5 separate regions of the Homo sapiens genome follow, and all the other regions are linked to region 2. The links are contacts of gene promoters, found by promoter capture Hi-C in blood cells and fetal thymus (Javierre and others, 2016). All regions are on one chromosome and are shown on one strand. Each heading gives the region's core, a stretch centred on a gene start or on the middle of the fragment in contact. The rest is flanking DNA. Distances are from core to core; before and after follow the strand shown.

The links. The method cuts DNA at HindIII sites, captures the fragments that hold promoters and counts their contacts. A CHiCAGO score of 5 or more calls a contact.
Region 1: a contact is called between a fragment that was not itself captured here and the fragment with the promoter of ZNF878 in region 2, in 14 of 17 cell types (megakaryocytes, M0 macrophages, activated CD4 T cells and 11 more). The highest score is 9.4, in megakaryocytes.
Region 3: a fragment that was not itself captured here is called in contact with the fragment with the promoter of ZNF878 in region 2 in 6 of 17 cell types (erythroblasts, fetal thymus, M1 macrophages and 3 more); the score reaches 7.7 in erythroblasts.
Region 4: the fragment with the promoter of ZNF564 here is called in contact with the fragment with the promoter of ZNF878 in region 2 in 1 of 17 cell types (endothelial precursors); the score reaches 5.8 in endothelial precursors.
Region 5: a fragment that was not itself captured here is called in contact with the fragment with the promoter of ZNF878 in region 2 in 1 of 17 cell types (erythroblasts); the score reaches 6.3 in erythroblasts.

Annotation. Positions count from the first base shown.
Region 1 is chr19:12,494,184-12,496,883 of GRCh38, forward strand. No RefSeq gene overlaps it. Among named protein-coding and RNA genes, the nearest start is that of ZNF709, 11 kb to the left of the region's middle. RefSeq lists enhancers at 339-1,219, 1,220-2,099, 1,361-1,440 and a silencer at 1,121-1,170. The HindIII fragment of the contact is 913 bases long and covers 989-1,901 here.
Region 2 is chr19:12,051,540-12,054,239 of GRCh38, forward strand. It overlaps ZNF878 (zinc finger protein 878), which reads right to left and starts at 1,422. Exons shown (of 4, transcript NM_001080404.3): 1 at 1,260-1,422. The coding sequence starts at 1,262. RefSeq lists a silencer at 1,018-1,067 and an enhancer at 1,256-1,761. The HindIII fragment of the contact is 8,690 bases long and covers 487-2,700 here.
Region 3 is chr19:12,525,385-12,528,199 of GRCh38, forward strand. It overlaps ZNF564 (zinc finger protein 564), which reads right to left. Exons shown (of 4, transcript NM_144976.4): 4 at 1-2,532. The coding sequence ends at 1,062. Among named protein-coding and RNA genes, the nearest start is that of ZNF564, 25 kb to the right of the region's middle. The HindIII fragment of the contact is 920 bases long and covers 1,105-2,024 here.
Region 4 is chr19:12,549,985-12,552,733 of GRCh38, forward strand. It overlaps ZNF564 (zinc finger protein 564), which reads right to left and starts at 1,498. Exons shown (of 4, transcript NM_144976.4): 1 at 1,346-1,498. The coding sequence starts at 1,348. LINC02926 (long intergenic non-protein coding RNA 2926) reads left to right here and starts at 1,742. Exons shown (of 2, transcript NR_187485.1): 1 at 1,742-2,749. RefSeq lists enhancers at 135-637, 1,296-1,405, 1,471-1,765, 2,549-2,749 and a silencer at 986-1,065. The HindIII fragment of the contact is 25,081 bases long and covers 1-2,505 here.
Region 5 is chr19:12,468,275-12,470,974 of GRCh38, forward strand. All of the region lies in intron 1 of ZNF709 (zinc finger protein 709), which reads right to left. Among named protein-coding and RNA genes, the nearest start is that of ZNF709, 15 kb to the right of the region's middle. The HindIII fragment of the contact is 9,028 bases long and covers 1-2,700 here.

The DNA.
Region 1 (2,700 bases), core at 195-2,694, 440 kb after region 2:
GAGAACAGTTTGGAGGTTCCACACACACAAAAAAAATAAAAATAGAGCTGCCATTTGATCCAGCAACCCCACTTTTAGGTAAATACCCCAAAGAAAGGAAATCCATGTATTGAAGAGAGATATCTGCACTCCTATGTTTATTGCAGCATTATTCACAATCCCCAAGATTTAGAAGCAACCTAACTGTCCCTCAACAGATGAATGGATTAAAAAAAAAATGTTCCAAATACACAATGGAGTACTATTCAGCCATAAAAAAGAATGAGATCCTGTCATTTGCAACAATTTGGATGGAATTAGAGGTCATTATGTTAAGCGAAATAAGCCAGGCACAGAAAGACAAACTTCACATGTTCTCACTTATTTTTGGGAGCAAAAAATTAAAACAATTGACCTCATGGAGATAGAGAGTAGAAGGATGGTTACCAGAGGCTGGAAAGGGTAGTGCGGGGGTTGGGGGAAGGGGAAGTGAAGATGGTTAATGGCCACAAAAAATAGAATGAATGAGACCTAGTATTTGCTAGCATAACAGGGTGATTATAGTAAAAAATAATTTGGTTGCACATTTTTAAATAACTAAAAGAGTATAATCGGCTTGTTTGTAACACAAAGGATAAATGCTTGAGTTGATGGATTCCCCATTTACCATGATGTGATTATTAGGCATTGCATGCTTACATCAAAATATCTCATGTAACTCATAAATATATACACCTACTATGTACCCACAACAAAACTTAAAATTAAAAATGTAAACATTGCCTGGTCTCTGTGAACCTACGGGGTCACAGTTCTGAGTGTCCTGGCAGCATGATGCCAAGCCACTGTCCTCTGGAGAATATCTGACTCTCCTGATCCAGTATGGCCTTGCCTCCAGGGCCCTTTTGCTGTGGATTTACTCCTCAAAGAGTCAGTCATCAAGGGGTTCGCTTTATCTGGAAACTCTTGTCTGGCATTCCCTGCGCGCACACCTATGTCCCCGTTCAGAAGCTTCTTCGGTAAACGCCAGTGTCCGGTCTGAGGGCCTTTATATCTAGCATATAAAGTTCTGGTATAATGCAAATGTCTCTGGCAGGACAGTTTCAGGGACAAAAGTGGAAGCTGGATCGCTCAGCTACCTGACCTCCGTCTGAGATGTGACTCAGGCAACAGGGGGTGGAACCTCACAAACTGTCCAATTGGAGACGCCGCCGGAGCGGTGGGTGGGGCCGCCCTGTACAAAGGCGCGTGGATACGGTGGCGCGATTTCCAGTTTGTGTCTCTCCTGCCTCGAACGTCGCTAGGTGGCTCTGCCGCAGCCTCTGTCGCTCTGGGACCCGCACTGGCAGAGGGAGTCGTAGTTAGGGGGTGGGGACACCGCGGAAGCCCGGAAATGGTGACTGTGCGGGGCCTGGAATCCCGAGACCTGAAGAGCTGCTGGCCGGAACCGGCTGTCGCGGGAACCGGGCCTGCCCGCGGCCACTCCTGGGTCTGTGAACCCGAGTCCCCCTGGCGTAGCTCGGCCCTCGGCCTCCTCCCGCCGCAGAGTGAAGCTGGGCCGGCAGCCAGGATCCCGGGAGTCCTGTCCTGTCCCCGCGCGGCTACTGAGGCCCGGGTCCCGGAGCCCTGTGTGGGCAGCTCCATGCCCGTAGCCCCGCGTCTTCCAAGATTGTGTGGGGATCACGGGAGGGTCATAGGAGAGAAGGAATCCCGGCTCGAGTGTGGCGTTCGTGCGTGGGAGGAGCGGTGGTCCGTGGGGTCCCCAGTCTCTTCTTTTTCCCCAGGGGGACCGGTTTGCCCCTTAATTTTACAAACGTGTGAAAACAGGATCTCAAATCCACGACCCCGTTTTCCAGCCTAGCTCTTCCTAGGACTGACAGGAAATCCCTAAATTTGCCAATTCCTTCTTTCATTCCAAATGAAGCTTTCCCTCTCCAATTCATAATATTATTATTTGCCCTGTTAAATACAATTTGTAGGAAGCCATTGGTTTAGACTGAGCTCCTGCACTAGACCCAACAGACCAAACCAAAATGAGTTACCCACGGGGACGTTCCTCGCTACCAAGCTGAAACTAAGTTGTTTATCTGACCTTACAAATTATCAGGAGAGAAAGAGATGCTGGTCAAATCCCCAACAGGCCAGTTTTAGCCAACATGATAAAGAAAGTCCCCTCTGCTTTAACTTTTACCAGAAAAGCAACTTTGAAAGTTCCCGTCTTTCAACTGGGCGTGATGGCTCACGCCTGTAATCCCAGCACTTTGGGAGGCCGAGGTGGGTGGATCATTTGAGGTCAGGAGTTCGAGACCAGCCTGGCGAACATGGTGAAACCCTCGTCTCTACTAAAAATACAAAAATTAGCTGCATGATGGCCTGTGCTTGTAGTCCCAGCTACTCAGGGGGCTGAGGTGGGAGGCTCACTTAAGCCCAAGCCCTGGAGGTCGAGGCTGCGGTGAGCTATGATCTCGCCACTGCGCTACAGCCTGGGTGACAGAGGGAGACCCTGTCTCAAAAAAATAAACATCAATAGCGGTTGAAAGCCCCATGACTGGGGAGCAGCAGCCAGAGACTAGTGACTTCAAGCTAAGACCACTCTTGAGCCTGCAAAGGGAGGTCATTGAAAGCCCAGATGGGTCTTCCTGGGGAGCCTTCCCCAAAAGTGTCCTACTTGCTCTCACCCACCAAGGAAAGAGCTCTTTATACAGAGAGAAGCTACAGAGC
Region 2 (2,700 bases), core at 172-2,671:
GAGGAGGGTGGATCACGAGGTCAGGAGTTCGAGACCAGCCTGGCCAATATCATGAAACCCCGTCTCTACTAAAAATACAAAAATTGGCCGGGCGCAGTGGCTCACGCCTGTAATCCCAGTACCTTGGGAGGCCGAAGTGGGCGGATCACAAAGTCAGGAGGAGTTCAAGACCAGCCTGGCCAATATGGTGAAACCCGTTTCTACTAAAAATACAAAAATTAGCCGGGCGTGGTGGCTGGCGCCTGTAGTCCCAGCTACTCGGGAGGCTGAGGCAAGAGAATCGCTTGAACCCGGGAGGCGGAGGTTGCAGTGAGCCGAGATGGCGCCACAGCACTTCAGCCTGGGGCGACGGAGCGAGACTCCGTCTCAAAAATATAAAAATCTGGTAAAATAAAAACAGGTCTTTTGGGGAAGGGGGCGGGGACTGGGATGGAATAACGTGGCAGATAACAGCCCTCCTTCCTACAGCCTCCAAATTTTAGACAAAGCTTTACACACTCTCAACCAACTGCCACCTACAGAATCCCTCCACCACCTGTGCCTTCTAACCCCGCTTCCATGTGTCCCGCCTTTCGGCCAAAGGAACTTACACCTTCCCGGCACTGATTCATCATTTTCCTGCAATTCCTGTCTCCCTGAAATGAATAAAACCAAACTGTCAGGAGCTGCCTCGGGATTGCTTACTCCAGACTTCGCGGGGTTGTGTTTCCCTCAGCCGAGGTCTCTCCTATTCGGCTCAGAATAAACTTATTCTACACGATTTGGGTTTTTCCGTTACCAAACCACAAGCCAGGACTGGGAGTTTCTCATTCATTAATCGCTGTTTGCTAAAATAAACTCTCATTTTTTAACAGTGCCTCAGTTTAATTTTTAACTGGAAAAAAAAAGGAACTGGGGACCCCACAGCCCACAGCTCCTCCCACACGAACCCCACACCCGAGGCAGGATCCCCCATGACCCTTCCATGGTCACCGCACAATCTGGGGAGACGCGGGGCTGCGGGCGCGGAGCTGCTCAGAGAGGGAGCCGGGGCCGGGGCCGCAGTCGCCGCGCAGGGACCGGACAGGACGCCCGGGGTCCCGGCTGCCGGCCCAGCTCCACCCAGCGGCCGAGGGGACCGAGGGCCGAGCTGCGCTAGGGGGACTGTGTCTGGAGCCCAGAGTCGCTGCAGGGGGGCCCGGGCCCCGCCACAGCGGGTTCCTCTCGGTTCCACCCAGTCCCTCCTTTCGCCTTGGGACTCCCCAGCACCGCATGCTCACCATTTCCTGGCTTCCAGGTATTCTGGCGTCCTCTCTAAAGGTCCCGTGAACAGTGCAGGTCACAGCGCAGTCGACAGAGCAACAGCAGCTACGGCGGAAGTAACTGGTCCCTCTCGGAGCAAGAAAGCCCCAGACCTTAACTAGCGCGAGCAGCCCTAGGAGTGAAGAGAGCGGGAATGCAACCTCCCCTTCCCTGGAGGACAGTGGCAGGGCCCCGCCCTAGCGCCCCTGATTGGATAGGGGTCTAGACTCCGCCCCCTTCCCTGAGTGACAGCAGAAGCCCCGGGTAACTGGGCGCTGCAGAGCCGAAGCGACTGGTTCTGGCCACACTTTCCAAGGTCAGCTCCCTCCCTCCCTCCCACCTTTACTTCGAATATTTGCCTTCGGCCAAACTTGCTCCGAACTGCTAGAAGGGACACTGTTGTCTTCCTCACTCCGTGGGCCGTCCCTGCCCCTTCATCCTACACGGGACACAAGTGTGCAGGGAATTCCAGATTCAGTGTCCACAAAATGTGAAAGACATTAAAATATTTTGCCCCAAGATATTGCCCTGCCAAAATATATTTCTTTGACAGTTTTGAAATGGCTGCTGCTTGGCCAGCAAACAAAAGGTGGCCTTGCAAAACTGTCTTTTGAGGGGGAAATTTACATTTGTAGAGAATCTCCGTTAATGAAGCACTGCCAGCTCCCCCGTTCTTTTCCTTTCCCTGATCTAAAAGCTATTGAGAGTTTGACACCTTTAAAATCTGAAGAGAGGTAGCACATGGTGACTCATGTCTATAATCCCACCACATTGGCAAACTGAGGCGGAAGGATCCCTTGAAGCAAGGAGTTTGAGGCCAACATCATCAACACAGCGAGATCCCTGTCTTTCTTTCTTTTTTTTTTTTTTTTTTAGACAGTCTCGATCTGTCGCCCAGGCTGGAGCACAGTGGCACGAGATCTTGGCTCACTGCAACCTCCGCCTCCCAGGTTCAAGCGATTCTCCTGCCCCAGCCTCCCAAATAGCTGGGATTACAGACATGCGCCACCACGCCCCGCTAATTTTGTATTTTTAGTAGAGACGGGGTTTCTCCATGTTGGTCAGGCTGGTCTCGAACTCACGACCTCAGGTGATCCGCCCGCCTCGGCCTCCTAAAGTGCTGGGATTACAGGCGTGAGCCACCTCGCCCGCCGATCCCTGTCTTTATTATTTAAAATTTTTTTAAATGGCCGGGCGCTGGCCGGGCGCAGTGGCTCACGCCTGTAATCCCAGCACTTTGGGAGACCGAGGTGGGCGGATCACGAGGTCAGGAGATCGAGACCATCCTGGCTAATACGGTGAAACCCCGTCTCTACTAAAAATACAAAAAAAAAATTAGCCGGGCGTGGTGGTGGGCGCCTGTAGTCCCAGCTACTCGGGAGGCTGAGGCAGGAGAATGGCGAGAACACGGGAGGTGGA
Region 3 (2,815 bases), core at 315-2,814, 470 kb after region 2:
ATATTTTAATCTGGGGATCTGCCATACTGTTTTCAGCAGGCTTATACCACTGTACATTCCCAGTGATAGTGCACAATGTTCTCCAACATTCCACATCCTTGACAGTATTTCTTGTTTTCCATCTTTGATACTACTAATCCTAATGAGATGCTATGTATGTCTTGAGTTTGATTTGTATTTCCCTAATGACTAAAGATGTCGAGCATTGTTACGTGCTTATTGGCCATCTGGGTATCTTCTTTGGAGAAATGTCTATTCAAGTCCTTTCCTCCATTTTAAAATTGGATTGTGTCTTAGCTTGGGTTGCTAAAACAAAATACCATAAATTGGAAAGCTTAATTAATCAACAAACATTTATTTCTCATGGTTTGGGAGGCTGGGAAGTCCAATATCAAGGCACTGGCATAGTCCATGTCTGGTAAGGGCCTGCTTCCCGGTTCAAAGATAGCTATCTTCTCACTGCACCCTCTCATGGTGAAGGGCAAAGCTAGCTCTCTAGGGATTCCTATCAGGAAACTAATCCCAATTACAAGGCCTCCATCTTCATGATGTCCTCCAATCCTAAAAACCACCAGAGACAGGGCCTCCAAATACCATCACATTGTGGGGGAGAGGGGGGGCACGGGGGTAAGGTTTCAACATATGAATCTGAGGTGGCATACACTCAGCCAAAACATTACACCTCTGGCCCCCAAAATCCATGTCATCACATGTAAAATATATTCATCTCATCCCAAAGGCCTCAAAAGTCTCAGTTAATTCCAGCATGAAGCCTAATGTTTAAACTCAAACTCCAAAGTGTCATCTCAATATCACATCACTCAGATATGGATGAGACTCAATTCATGCTGAGGCAAAATTCTTCTTCAGCTCCGAACCGGTGAAAACCAAACTAGTCATGTATTTCCAAAATATGAGACAGGCACAGGATAGAGATTCCTATTCCAAAAGTGAGAAACAGGAGAAAGGGGTGAGCTCCCAAACAAGTCTGAAACCCAGAAAGCAAACTGAAGACTTTCCATATTCTTTAGATATGTAGATACTTGTAGACCTGTCCTCCACTATTCATTTTCACAGGTATTCGAAGGTTGTGTGATAAATGAAAGCTTTCCCACATTCTTTACGTAAGGTTTATCTCCATTATGAGCTCTTTCATGTCTTTGAAAGGAACTGGAATAACTGAACGTTTTTCCACATTGCTTACATTCATAGGGTTTTTCTCCGGTATGAGTTCTTTCATGTATTCTAATGGAACTGGCATAATTGAATGCTTTCCCACATTCTTTACATTCATAGGGTTTTTCTCCAGTATGAGTTCTTTCATGTGTTCGGACAGAACTAGGACAGTCAAAGGCTTTACCACATACCTGACATTTATAAGGTCCATCTCCAGTGTGCAGTATCATATGTTTTCTAATCCTTTTAAGAGAAATGAAGGCTTTCCCACATACCTGACATTCATAGGGTTTCTCTCCAGTGTGAGTTCTTTCGTGTATTTGAAATGAACTGGGACAGTCAAAGGCTCTACCACATACCTGACATTTATAAGGTCCATCTCCAGTGTGCTTTATCATGTGTCTTCGGACACTTGGGAGAGAAATGAAGGCTTTCCCGCATTCCTTACATTCATAGGGCTTCTCTCCAGTGTGAGTCCTTTCATGTGTTCGAACATTACTGGAAGAACTGAAGGTTTTACCACATTTATTACATTCATAGGGTTTCTCCCCAGTATGAGTTCTTTCATGCTTTCGAACATAACTGGGAAAAATAAAGGCTCTCCCACATACTTTACATTTATAAGGTCCATCCCCAGTGTGCCTAATCATATGACTTTGAAAATTTGTGAAAGAAATGAAGGCCTTCCCACACTGTTTACATTCATGGGGTTTCTCTCCAGTATGAGTTCTTTCATGTATTCGAAATAAACTGGGGCGGTCAAAGGCTTTTCCACATTCCTGACATTTATAAGGTCCATCTCCAGTGTGCCTAATCATGTGTCTTTGAAAACTTGGAAGAGAAATGAAAGCTTTTGCACATTCCTGACATTCATAGGGTTTCTCTCCAGTGTGAGTTCTTTCATGTATCTGAAATAAACTTGGGCGATCAAAGGCTTTCCCACATTCCTGACATTTATATGGTCCATCTCCAGTGTGCTTAATCATGTGTCTTCGAACACTTGGGAGAGAAATGAAGGCTTTCCCACATTCCGGACATGCATAGGGTTTCTCACCAGTGTGAGTTCTTTCATGTCTTCGAAAGGATTGACAAGAACTGAAGGCTTTCCCACACTGCTTACATTTATATGGTTTCTCTCCATATTCCTGATAGTCATATGGTTTGTGTCCAAGGTGAGATCTGATGTGCCTACTAAGGGATGAATGATGCATGAAGACTTTCCCACACAAACTACATTCACATGGTCTTACTATAGTAGGAATTTTCTTGTTCAGATTAAGATTGAGAATCTGACTGAAGGCTTCTCCACATTGATCATATTCTTTACTTTCACTGAGTCCCTCTTCCATATGATTTCTGGAAAAAATAGAAAGCAAGATTTAGTGGTTTGTGACTTTATATTTATTAATAGGTATTCGACTTACATTTTTACCATAATCGCGGAAAGGGTAAGTTTTCAGGCCTGTATGAATTGTTTGAAAGTGAATGGATGGAATGCTCTGCAAGAGAGCTTGACAGTAGCTATCACCAAAAAAGTGATATCCATATATACAGTTTCTTAATACTATTTCCAAGTGAATGATTTTGCAACACTGAACATCTATGCCACTTTTTCTTTTTCTGGTGAAAAAGTTGTAGG
Region 4 (2,749 bases), core at 248-2,747, 500 kb after region 2:
GGGAAGCACAAAAATTTTTTTACCACGGCCGGGCGCGGTGGCTCACGCCTGTAATCCCAGCACTTTGGGAGGCCGAGGCAGGCGGATCACCTGAGGTCGGGAGTTCGAGACCAGCCTGGCCAACATGGAGAAACCCTGTCTCTACTAAAAATACAAAATTAGCCGGGCATGGTGGCGCATGCCTGTAATCCCAGTTACACGGGAGGCTGAGGCAGGAGAATCGCTTGAACCCAGGAGGTGGAGGTTGCAGTGAGCTGAGATCGCGCCATTGCACTCCAGCCTGGGCAATAAGAGCGAAACTCTGTCTCAAAAAAAAAAAAAAATTTTACCGTAGAGTGTCAGGTTCTTATTCTCCGTTTCCCTCTCAGGTTACAAGTACACAAACAAGAGGCCGGGCGCGGTGGCTCACGTCTGTAATACCAGCATTTTGGGAGGCGGAGGTGAGCGGATCACCTGAGGTCTGGAGTTTGAGACCAACCTGGCCAACATGGAGAAACCCAGTTTCTACCAAAAATACAAAAAGTAGCCGGTCGTGGCGGCGCATGCCTGTAATCCCAGTTACTCAGGAGGCTGAGGCAGGAGAATTGCTTGAACCCGGAAGGCGAAGGTTGCAGTGAGCTGAGATCTTCCCACTGCACTCCAGCCTGGGCGACAGAGCGAAACTCTGTCTGAAAAGAAAAAAAAAACAACAAACAGAAAACAAATCCTTTCAAAAGAGTATGGTGAAAGAAACTATAAACAACTAAAATACTGTGTCTTAAATGTCAAACAAAAAACAGCTGATAATGTTGATTTGGCGAGGGGAGGTCACCTTTGGGAATGCGGGGAAGGAACCGGAAATTTAGGCATTTATTTCCAGCCCCAGAAAAAGCTAGGCTAAAAAAAACGGGAGTCGTAGGTTTGAGATTCTTTTTCCAGTACGTTTGGAAGACTCGGAGGAAGACCAGTCCCCCGGAAAAAAAGACGATGTACTGGGAAGGCCACAGCCCACAGCTCTTCCCATGCACGAACCGCACACCCGAGACGGGATTCCGCCTTATGACCCTCCCGTGTCCCAGTACAAACAATCTGGAGAGAGGCGGGGCTGCGGGCGCGGAGCTGCCCAGACAGGGCTCCGAGGCCGAGGCCGCAGTCGCCGCGCAGGGACGGGACAGGACGCCTGGGGTACTGGCTACGGCCCAACCCACCCTGCGGCCGAGGGGACAGAGGGCCGAGCTGCGCCAGGGAACTCGGGTCCCAGACCCTGGAGTCGCTGCAGGGAGGCCAGGGTGCTTCCACAGCCGGTTCCGGCCGGTTCCCACAAGCCCCTCCCCCAGTCTCCAGGCGCCCGGCCCCGCACACGCACCATTTCCTGGCTTCCAGGGTGTCCCGGGGTCCTGCCTACGGCTCTCTCCGGCCTGTGCAGGTCCCAGCGCGCCAGACGCTGCGGTGGAGCCACCGGGGCCACTGGAGAAGCGGAGACCGGAACCCAAACGCAGCGGACACGAAACAGGAAGACCCCGCGGAGTTGTTGAACATTGCCCCTGTCCCCCTTGCAGAGTTCCTGATTGGATGGTTTGCAGGTTCCCGCCCCAGTGCCCCTGATTGGGTGATGATTCAAGTCCTGCCCCCTTGGTACTGAGTGACAGGAGAAGCAATGCGGTATGTGGCTGAGTAAAGACAGATTGACAGGGTCTTGGCCACTGCCCTTCGCGGGCCGGGCTTCCTCCTTCTGTAACCTTCTGTGCCGGGGAGGATATTTGCATTTAAGCAGAAAGTGTTTCAGGCTCTGCAGAGGTGACACTGGCGTGTTTCTGCACTCAGGGTGCCCTTCCTGCCTTTTCCTCCCGGACACAGAGTCACAAGTGTGCACAGGGAATGACAGACTCGGCGTCCAGTGGAGCCATCCCCTGGCCTCGGAGTAGGAGGCGCGCCCAGGCCAGGCCAGACCACAGTGTAACAGGAGGGAGGAGGGCTTGCTTCTTTCAGGCAAGAAAATTAAAACGGACAAAGAAATAAAAGTATTAAATGTATAGGAAAAACTGGAGTTTTTATGACAGCGATCATCTATAAAGAAACCAAGAGAAGTAAGCAAACATTTGAACTAGCTCAGACAAGCAGCCTGCTTCACCCGCAGTTCACAAGGAAAACCCACAATCATAACGTTAAAAATATTCCCAAGCGCCGGGCGCGGTGGCTCACGCCTGTAATCCCAGAACTTTGGAAGGCCAAGGTGAGAAAATTGCTTAAGGTCAGGAGTTCAAGACCAGCCTAACCAACATGGTGAAACCCCATCTCTACTAAAAATACAAAAATTAGCCAGGCGTGGTGGCAGGTGCCTGTAATCCCAGCAACTCGGGAAGCTGAGGTACGAGAATCGCTTGAACCTGGGAGGGGGAAGTTGCAGTGAGCCGAGATAGCGCCATTGCACTCCAGCCTGGGCGACAGAGCGAGACTAAAAAATGAAATATGAAATGAAATGAAATAATGAAATGAAGAAATGAAATATAAAATAAAATAATCCCAAGCTTGGGACCCAGACTCTAACTGCTGAAATGGAACCCCAGTGTGGATCAGAACCTGGTGATGAGACAGGGACACTTAAGAATTCAACTTTGGGAGCTCAAGGTGCCCTCCAGTCCTCTCCTCACAGTGTGGAAACACTCTTTCCTTCAAAACCTTCATTTGTACCAGCAGGAAACTCTCACCCGGAGTCAATGTAAAGTCGTGACCTAAATAAATTGTCATGTTCCCAAACCTTTTCTCCAGG
Region 5 (2,700 bases), core at 132-2,631, 420 kb after region 2:
TGAGAAATCGGATGGTTGCTGTGTCTGTGTAGAAAGAAGTAGACATGGGAGACTTTTCATTTTGTTCAGTACTAAGAAAAATTCTTCTGCCTTGGGATCCTGTTGATCTATGACCTTACCCCCAACCCTGTGCTCTCTGAAACATGTGCTGTGTCCACTCAGGGTTAAATGGATTAAGGGCGGTGCAAGATGTGCTTTGGTAAACAGATGCTTGAAGGCAGCATGCTCGTTAAGAGTCATCACCACTCCCTAATCTCAAGTACCCAGGGACACAAACACTGCGGAAGGCCGCAGGGTCCTCTGCCTAGGAAAACCAGAGACCTTTGTTCACTTGTTTATCTGCTGACCTTCCCTCCACTATTGTCCTATGACCCTGCCAAATCCCCCTCTGCGAGAAACACCCAAGAATGATCAATAAAAAAAAAAAAAAAAAGAAATGCTATACGATTGAAGCAAATATTTCCAGTTTAAGACCAACAATTCCTTGTAAGAAAAATACTTTTTATCTCCTGCTTTATCATGTACTATATCACTCAGCATCCCATGAAACACAGGGTCAAATCTGTACGAGATTTTTTTTTTTTGAGACAGAGTCTTGCTCTGACGCCCAGGCTAGAGTGCAGTGGCGCGATCTCAGCTCACTGCAAGCTCTGCCTCCCGGGTTCACGCCATTCTCCTGCCTCAGCCTCCTGAGTAGCTAGGACTACTGGCGCCCGCCACTATGCCCGGCTAATTTTTTGTATATTTAGTAGAGACGGGGTTTCACTATGTTAGCCAGGATGGTCTCGATCTCCTGACCTCGTGATCCGCCCACCTCGGCCTCCCAAAGTGCTTGGGATTACAGGTGTGAGCCACCGCACCCAGCCACGAGATTTTAATGAATAAGTATATACTGAAGAACTGTACATTTTTTCTTCTATTCCCATGATTACACTGAAAAGCCAGAGGGCCCGTGCAACTTGCAACAACATCCTGCTGGCCATGTTGTACCGAAGTACTGCAGACCATTAGAATTAGTCAGATCCAACTGGTGGAGTGAAAATATTCTTTTAGTGAAATATTAATTTTAACTTGTTTGTATAATATTTATCACAGACCCAGTGTTTCTTTTTTCTCCCTGTCCCATTTGATGGAGGCAGGAGGTTACTGGGATGTTAGAGCACAGGCAGGAGGAAAAAGGCATGGCAACTTAGATCATAAAAATTAAATCTTCACCAGGCGCGGTTGCTCACGCCTATAATCCCAGCACTTTGGGAGGCTGAGAAGGGTGGATCACGAGGTCAGGAGATAGAGACCATCCTGGCTAACATGGTGAAACCCTGTCTCTACTAAAAATACAAAAAAATTAGCTGGGTGTGGTGGTGGGCGCCTGTAGACCCAGCTACTCAGGAGGCTGAGGCAGGAGAATGGCGTGAACCTGGGAGGCAGAGCTTGCAGTGAGCCGAGATCGCACCACTGCACTCCAGCCTGGGTGACAGAGCAAGACTCTGTCTCAAAAAAATAAAATTAAGTCTTCAAAAAATCCCCACACTCATGAGCCTCAGGACTGCGACCACTGTTAGCACACATAGGATGGAGATGATAAGATGCCAGAACAGCTCTTTCCCTCAGAAACCTAACAGTGTACCCTGAGACTTAACGAATTTGAGTAACAGGTTAACAGTTTCAATTTGCAAGGGAGTTCACCCAAGTCCACAATGGTTTCATACTGAATTTGCCCATGATTACAAAATTCAAAGGGTTCAGCAGTGCTGTCCTCCAAAAGGATATGAAATTCCCTTTCTCCAATTTCAGAAAGAAGTGATCCGCAAACAGCTACTCTAGAGGCTGGCCATCCTCCCAACGTCTCTCATTTTAGGCTCCCGTGAGGTACGTGGTGGCATGAGATCCCGACACCAAAGCATAGGAATCCCTCAGTGGCATAATTCCCCTAAATCTTGGCCTTTGAAAAAGATCATTAACCTACTGATGTCCATATGCAAAGGACAGAAAAAATGCTCCCAAACAGCAATCCTGATACTAGAATTTACCTATTTGGTAAAGTAACAGAAATATCCACACCTTTCTTGTTGTTGGGTCAAAGGAGTAAAATGAGCTGATCACGTAAGTTCTAATTGTTCCTTGTACAGTGGTTCTATGGCACTTGTTCAAAGAAATTCCTACTACCTAGTGTGCAGAAGACTGTTAACATTAGTAAAATGTTAACCTAAGACTACTTATCTTTAAATGCCTGAGGGTATATATTCAATTCATAAAAAGTTCACATATGATTCTGTGGTCTCCAAACATTTGTTGTCCTTCACTGATATCTGGGAAGTGAGAATTTGGGAGGGACCCCGCCAACCTAAGTGATAAAGAGTGGCTTAGTGTGTGGCTGGGTGCAGTGGCTCACGCTGTAATCCCAGCACTTTGGGAGGCTGAGGTGGGCGGATCACAAGGTCAGGAGATCGAGACCATCCTGGCTAACACAGTGAAACCCCGTCTGTACTGAAGATACAAAAAATTAGCTGAGTGTGATGTCGGGAGCCTGTAGTCCCAGCTACTCGGGAGGCTGAGGCAGGAGAATGGCGTGAACCCGGGAGGCAGAGCTTGCAGTGAGCCAAGATCATGCCACTGCACTCCAGCCTGGGCAACAGAGCGAGACTCCACCTCAAAAAAAAAAAAAAAAGAGTGGCTTAGCGTGCCTAAATGGTTTATGGA